Regions from separate parts of the Homo sapiens genome. Here region 2 is linked to region 1. Evidence: promoter capture Hi-C in 16 types of primary human blood cells and fetal thymus (Javierre and others, 2016). All regions are on one chromosome and are shown on one strand. Each heading gives the region's core, a stretch centred on a gene start or on the middle of the fragment in contact. The rest is flanking DNA. Distances are from core to core; before and after follow the strand shown.

What was found. The method cuts DNA at HindIII sites, captures the fragments that hold promoters and counts their contacts. A CHiCAGO score of 5 or more calls a contact.
Region 2: a fragment that was not itself captured here is called in contact with the fragment with the promoter of NPSR1 in region 1 in 1 of 17 cell types (neutrophils); the score reaches 5.2 in neutrophils.

Annotation. Positions count from the first base shown.
Region 1 is chr7:34,655,897-34,659,626 of GRCh38, forward strand. It overlaps NPSR1 (neuropeptide S receptor 1), which reads left to right and starts at 2,322. Exons shown (of 9, transcript NM_207172.2): 1 at 2,322-2,663. The coding sequence starts at 2,517. All of the region lies in intron 2 of NPSR1-AS1 (NPSR1 antisense RNA 1), which reads right to left. The HindIII fragment of the contact is 9,279 bases long and covers 1,231-3,730 here.
Region 2 is chr7:34,448,092-34,451,670 of GRCh38, forward strand. The region is part of intron 2 of NPSR1-AS1 (NPSR1 antisense RNA 1); the gene reads right to left. Among named protein-coding and RNA genes, the nearest start is that of NPSR1, 210 kb to the right of the region's middle. The HindIII fragment of the contact is 4,559 bases long and covers 1-3,579 here.

The sequences.
Region 1 (3,730 bases), core at 1,072-3,571:
CTACTAAAAATACAAAAAATTAGCCAGGCGTGGTGGCAGGCGCCTGTAGTCCCAGCTACTTGGGAGGTTGAGGCAGGAGAATGGCGTGAACCCAGGAGGCAGAACTTGCAGTAAGCCGAGATCGTGCCATTGCACTCCAGCCTGGGCAACAGAAAAAGACTCCATCTCAAAAAAAAAAAAAAAAAAAAAGGAAACAACCATATTTATTATTTTGCTTAATATTATGTTTGTAAGTTCCATTTATGTTATTTTTGGCTACAGATCATTTTCTTATTGCTATATAGTATTTCATTGTGTGACTACATGAAAATTTATTCATCCAGTTGATGGACATTTGGGTGGTTTCCAGTTTGGGATGATTCATTGATTTTGACATCATGAATATTTAGGTTGCTTCTGATACGTTTCTTTAATACTTTGCGAAGGCATCATTTTGCATGACTGCTTGTATAGATACATAAATGTTTCTCTTGGGTGGCCACAGGTTAAACAATGGTCTATCTGGATCATGAATGGAGAGAAAAGGAAACAACCAGAAAGCTCTCTCTCCCCACCTATTCTCTGTCCATGGCATCTGCCACTTTCTCTCACTCTGCCCCTACCACACTGTGACCTAACCAGCTTCTACCTTCTCCCAGGAGTTCCTCACAGATTTTGTCTTATAAACATTTTCTTGAAGTAAAACATACCTACAGAAAAGTGCATATGTTTTAAGTATGTAGTGCAAAGAATTTATGTGAATTGAGCATATGTAAGTAACCCAGATAGAGATGAAAAATTATTAGCATCTAGAAATGGAACAATGCATTAGAGGATATGTAATTCCAGCTTTACTAAATACTGCTGAATTGCTTTTCAAAAATTACCACATCAACTAACTCTCACCAGAAGTAAAGATGTACACCCGTTTCCCTTCAATCTTGTCAGCACTTGGGGATAGCCACACGCTAGCTTTCACTATAATAATAGGTAAACATTCTTACTGGTTTTAGTTATTTTCCTTAATTTTTAATATGGTTGAGCCTATCTTCATACTCATTTGTTAGTTGGAATATGCTGCACTTGTTTTGCTATTGAGTTGTTGTCCTGTTTTGAACCTTTCCTTAAGAGTCCACAGCTTATCCAGTTTTCTACACAACTCACTTCTGTTTGCTGCCCTTCATTATAGACTCAATGCCTTCTCATTGCTAGAGCACTGTGCCCTCCTTGGGGCTCGATGGTTTATAATAAAGCTTCCCCAGGAGATCTCATGGGGGCCAGGTTCTTTAGTGGTGGCCACTAAAGCTACTACCTCTTATTCCAGGTGCCATAAACCAGTGGCTGGACCTGGTTGGTTCACAGAGTGTTCTCAATGTGAGGAATCAGGTATTGTGCTTGGTTGTCATATAAGCAGCTTAGTTCCCATTGTTTTATACCTGGCCTGCTACCCTCATTCATGTTACCTTCATGCCCCATAGACATTTGAGATTTGATGCAAACCAGTCTGTTACAGTAAAAGCACCACTGTCTAGGAAGTTCTGGAGATGGGTTATCAGCTCATTTACATCAGCAGCTGCGGGATCTTGGGCAAGTCATTTCACCTATTGGAGCCACTCTCTGCTAGCATAAAGGAGAACATAAAGATACCTTCCCTGCCTATCTCACAAGGTTGTTTGGGAAACTGAATGAAAGAACGTGTAAATGTGCTTTGCAGGTTTTTTGTGAAACAGGAATAGCTGTTAGTATTCTCGCCTAGCCCTGTCTGTGGTGCCCAGGATGCTGCATTACCTCCTTTCTACCCTCGCCCTGAGTATTGGTCCTAGGTAGAAGCTGAGGTGAATATACTGAAAGCAGTAAGAATCTTCACCAGGCCCCTCCCAGTCATATCACAAGGTGTTGTAGCTTATTGACAAACACAGACCTCATGTTTCTCTGAGAACCGCCCTGTGAACACCTAGATAGAACTAAGGGTGTGAAATACAAACGTACTATTTGCCTACACTTACGGAAATAAGAGCACATGACACAGTAGATGGCAAGGTGAGGCTTTAAGTCAGAAAGCAACCTCAGCTGAAACAAATGCATAATTATAATTTGATTTCAGAAGTGGAAACATGACCCGAATTCATGCACCTACTGATTAGTCCAAATTCCTTTATTGTTGAAGCTGGAGCAGAAGTGGGGGTCCACCGTGGAAGTAAGGAAAAGCAAAACAGAACAGGGGTCTCATCCAGGGAGCCATGTCGATGGCTATGGGGAGCTCCACCTTGCTCTTGGGGTGGGGCCCTGGCCCTGGGTGGGACTGTGGGGTGATGAGGGTTGTGCTATGCTGGCTACCTGGTGGTAATTGCCAAGGAGAGAGCAGCACGTAGATCCTCCCTGTCATCAGGCAGAGCTCTTCAGTGAGGTGGGCTCAGGGAGGGCTCTGTGCCTCCGTTCAGCAGAGCTGCAGCTGCTGCCCAGCTCTCAGGAGGCAAGCTGGACTCCCTCACTCAGCTGCAGGAGCAAGGACAGTGAGGCTCAACCCCGCCTGAGCCATGCCAGCCAACTTCACAGAGGGCAGCTTCGATTCCAGTGGGACCGGGCAGACGCTGGATTCTTCCCCAGTGGCTTGCACTGAAACAGTGACTTTTACTGAAGTGGTGGAAGGAAAGGAATGGGGTTCCTTCTACTACTCCTTTAAGGTAAGTTTCTTGCCTGCGACTCTGAACACTGACTTATAACAATGAGACTGCTGGAACTTAAGAGTGTCAATTGAAGTATCATAGCCAGTATTGTGAATGAGTGTTATTTTCTTTACTAAAAAGGATTTTTAAAAGTCTGAAGTGCTAAAACAACAAGCTGTAGTGTGCAGAGACCTAGATTGTAGTTTCTTAGGAATACAGGTGACGTTTTTCTTTCTGATGCTGCTGGAAATGTGTGAATCGTGAGTAACATTTATGAGTGGATGATTTTTACTTTCCCCCTTTCCTTAGGTGAAAGCACTTTTAATTAATCCTATAGCAGTACTTGAAATGTCTGTTTCTAGTAGGGGTTAGAGCTATGAGTTTTTTGCTAGGAACACCAGAGATGCGGAAAGCTCACAATCCCCAGGACAGTGACTGATATGATGAGAAACAACATTGAATAAGGCAGGAAGGACGACACTTTCTTTGATGATCCTTTTCATTAAACATCAGTGAGGAATATATTTCTTTGAGGGTAGTTGATGATGCCACCATTTGCAACAAATTACCTCCTAGAACAAATGAAGGACAGAGAGTTTGGTGAGTTTCACCTTCAAAGTATCCAAGGGCCACACTGAGGAAGGATCTTCATTAAGCTAATACTGTATTGTTTCTTATTCCGCAACAAGATCTTGTGGACAGAAATGAACCGCACATTTGGGAAAAGAACAGTTTCCTGCTTCTTGCCTCAGAATGCTGGGTTGTCAGGTTATTTCACACCTGTCTAACGATATGTTTAGTCATTGCAATAATTCACAGGTCTCAAACTGGTCCTTTCCACTGAAGAAAAAATACTTCAAAAAGATTCTAGTTGTTGCTTTGTTGGGTTTTGTTGTTGTTGTTGTTGTTAATCCTCTGTATGTTCTTGAAATGATTTGGTTTTTACACAATGAGATAGCATTACTGTAACATCCACCTCCCTACTGGAAGTTCACTTCTTTTGCAAATATTCAGAATAAAACTTTCAGCAGGGTGCTGTCCCAGGAGTCAGACTTAAACTTCCAGGGCCCTAATGATCCTGCAGC
Region 2 (3,579 bases), core at 477-2,976, 210 kb before region 1:
GTTGAACCCCTCACCCAGGTAGTGATCACAGGACTTCATCAAAGAGTTCTGAAAGGAGTTTTAACCTTTGGCCCTTCTCTCCCCCGCTTGCAGTTGCCAATGTCTATTGCTCTCATTTGTATATCCATGTGTACCCAATGTTTAGCTCCAATTTATATGTGAGAACAGTAAAAACAAAAACAAAAATATATGTGAGAACACGTGGTATTTGGTTTTCTGTTCTTGCATTAATTTGCTTAGGATAACCTCCAGCTGCATCCATGTTGCTGCAGAGGACATAATTTTATTCCTGTTTATGGCTGCATAGTATTTCATGGTGTATTTCTACCACTTTTCTTTATCCAATCCACTGTTGATGGCACCTAGGTTAATTCCATGTCTCTGCTATTGTGAGTGATGCTGCAATGAACATATGAGTGCATGTGTCTTTTTGGTAGAACGATTTATTTTCCTTTGAGTATATACCCAGTAATAGGATTGCTGAGTCAAATGGTCCTCAGATTTAAGTTCTTTGAGAAATCTCCAGATTGCTTTCCACAGTGGCTGAACTAATTTGCATTCCCACCAGCAGTGTATAAGCATTCCCTTTTCTTTATGGCCTTGCCAACATCTGTTATTTTTTGACTTTTTAATAATAGCCATTCTGACTGGTGTGAGATGATGTCTCATTGTGGTTTTGATTTGCATTTCTCTGATGATTAGTGATGCTCGGCATTTTTTCATATGTGTTTGCTGCCTGTATAACTTCTTGTGAAAAGTATCCATTCATGACTTTTGCCAATTTTAATGGGGTTGCTTTTGTTTGTTGATTTGTTTAAGTTTCTCATAGATTCTGGATAGTAGATCTTTGTCAGATGCATAGTTTGCAAATATTTTTTGTCATTCTATAGTTTGCCTGTTTACTCTGTTAATAGATTCTTTTGCTGTGCAGAAGCTCTTTAGTTTAATTAGGTTCCCCTTTAATTTTTGTTTTTGTTGCAATTACTTTTGAGGACTTAATCATAAATTATTTGCCAAGGCCAATGTCCAGAAGGGTATTTCCTAGGTTTTCTTCTAGGATTTTTATAGTTTTAAATCTTACATTTAAGTTTTTATTCACCTTGAGTTAATTTTTTGTATATGGTCACAGGTAGCAGTTTAGTTCCATTCTTCTGGATATGGATAGCCAAATATCTCAGCACAATTTACTGAATACGGTATTTTTTTTACCCATTATTTATTTTTATCAACTTTGTCAAAGATCAGTTGTTGTAAATGTGTGGCTTTATTTCTGGGTTTTCCATTCTGTCCCATTGATCTATATGTCTGTTTTTATATTAGTACCATGATGTTTTGGTTATTGTAGCCTTGTAGTATAGTTTGAAGTCAGGTAATATGATGCTTCTGGCTTTGTTCTTTTTTGCTTAGAATTGCTTTGGCTATTCAAGCTCTTTTTTGGTTCTGTATAAATTTTAGAATAGTTTTTCTTTCTAATTCTTTGAAAAATGACATTGGTATTTGAGAGAAAGAGTAGTGAATCTGTAGATTGCTTTAGGCAGCATGGCCATTTTAAGGGTATTGATTCTTCCAATCTATGAGCATGGAATGATTTTTTTATTATTTTGTGTCATCTATGATTTCTTTTAGCAGTGTTCTGTAGTTCTTCTTGCAGAGATCTTTCACTTTCTTGTAAAATTACAACACTTTCTACTTTCTACACACACACACACACACACACACACACCACACACACACAGATCACATACAAATACCCCTCCTGACAGAAGAGCAAGGAAAACAAACACACAGTGAAAGATTTTTATTGTATAAATAAACATACATTATATTATCTCAGATATTAAATAACAAGATTTGCAGACTAAGCAAAACCCAATGCTTTATATTACTCCTGAAACGTATCTAAAATGAATGATTCAGAAAGGTTAAATACAAAAGGATGCTAAAAACTGTACCAGAAACATTTAAGGAAAAAGAAAGTGGAGGTCATAATTTTTATATTAGACAAAAATAGAATTCAGATCAAAGAACATTAAATAAGACAGAAGAGAGGCACTTTACACTTCTAAAGGCTAAAATTTATGATGAAGATGGAATAGTTATTAAGAGTTATGCACTTAGTAACAAAGCATCAACTTGCATAAAGCAAAAACTATAGGAAAAGAAGAAATACAATAAACACACTGAAAACACAGAACTTTAACCATATTTTCAGAGTACTCTCACAGTTCAAAGACCAAAAAAATCCATAAGGATATAAATATATAATGAATAAGAAACTTATTTTCAATCACATGTGAACCAATTATGAAACTGATTAATGAATAGGCCTCAAATAAAACATCAGTAAATTCCAAATTTTATATGTGTATGTATATATATGCATATTTGTGCATATATGTATATATGTGCATATATGTATATGTGCACATATATGTATATGTGCACACACATACATACACAGCATTCTCTGATAATTATGCAATAAAACTAGAAATTAACAATAAAGTAAGAAACAAAAATGACCTACCACATGGGTATGAAAAAGAAATAAATGACTAGCCTGGTAAGAATTAACACTTTAGAAAATGAATGACTAAGAAGCAGGATTTGCTGATGGATTGGATATGGTTAGGTACTATAGAGAGGTACCAGGACATCAACTAGATTTTGGGCTTAAGAAACTGGAACTAGTTGGGTCGGGCGCAGTGGCTCACGCCTGTAATCCCAGCACTTTGGGAGGTCGAGTTGGGCAGATCATGCGGTCAGGAGATCGAGACCACCCTGGCTAACACGGTGAAACCCCGTCTCTACTAAAAATACAAAAAATTAGCCGGGCGAGGTGACGGGCCCCTGTAGTCCCAGCTAGTCCGGAGGCTGAGGCAGGAGAATGGCGTGAACCCGGGGGGCGGAGCCTGCAGTGAGACAAGATCGCGCCACTGCACTCCAGCCTGGGTGACAGAGCGAGACTCCGTCTCAAAAAAAAAAAAAAAAAAAAAAAAAAGAAAGAAAAAAAAAGAAACTGGAACTAGTTATTCAGGTAGGAAAGACTGGGAGAAAAGATAGTAATGATAGAAATAAAGATTCTATTTTGATCATGTTAAAAATGAGCTGCTTATTCAACATTTATTTGAGAACTGAATATATTCATCTTCCACCCCAAGAAGCCTATCAAATATTCCCTTTGAGCACATCCAGTAATCTCCCTGAAAGGAGTTCTGGTCAACACATTTTGTTCCATTTCATTACTTTTCCAAGACAGTCTAGAGCTGCAGTATTTCAGTGCCCCATGTATACTGCTGACCTCAGTAACTGACCAGTTGTCCCACTTCTTGGTCTAACTCTCTGACTGCACTGGTGACAGACCGGTGATTGGAACTCAGGTTTCCTGACTTTTTATCCATTTCCACAATTATGGCTTCAACTGAACATAGGCAAAACACAGACTTACTTTAAACAATTGTAGAGCATCAGCTCTTGCTAATTCTGAAGCTCTCTTTCATTTTAAATAACAAACACTTTATCCAAATATATGTGCAGTTGCCCTTCCTTCCTAACCTTGGCTTTCAGCAGTTGCTTTGA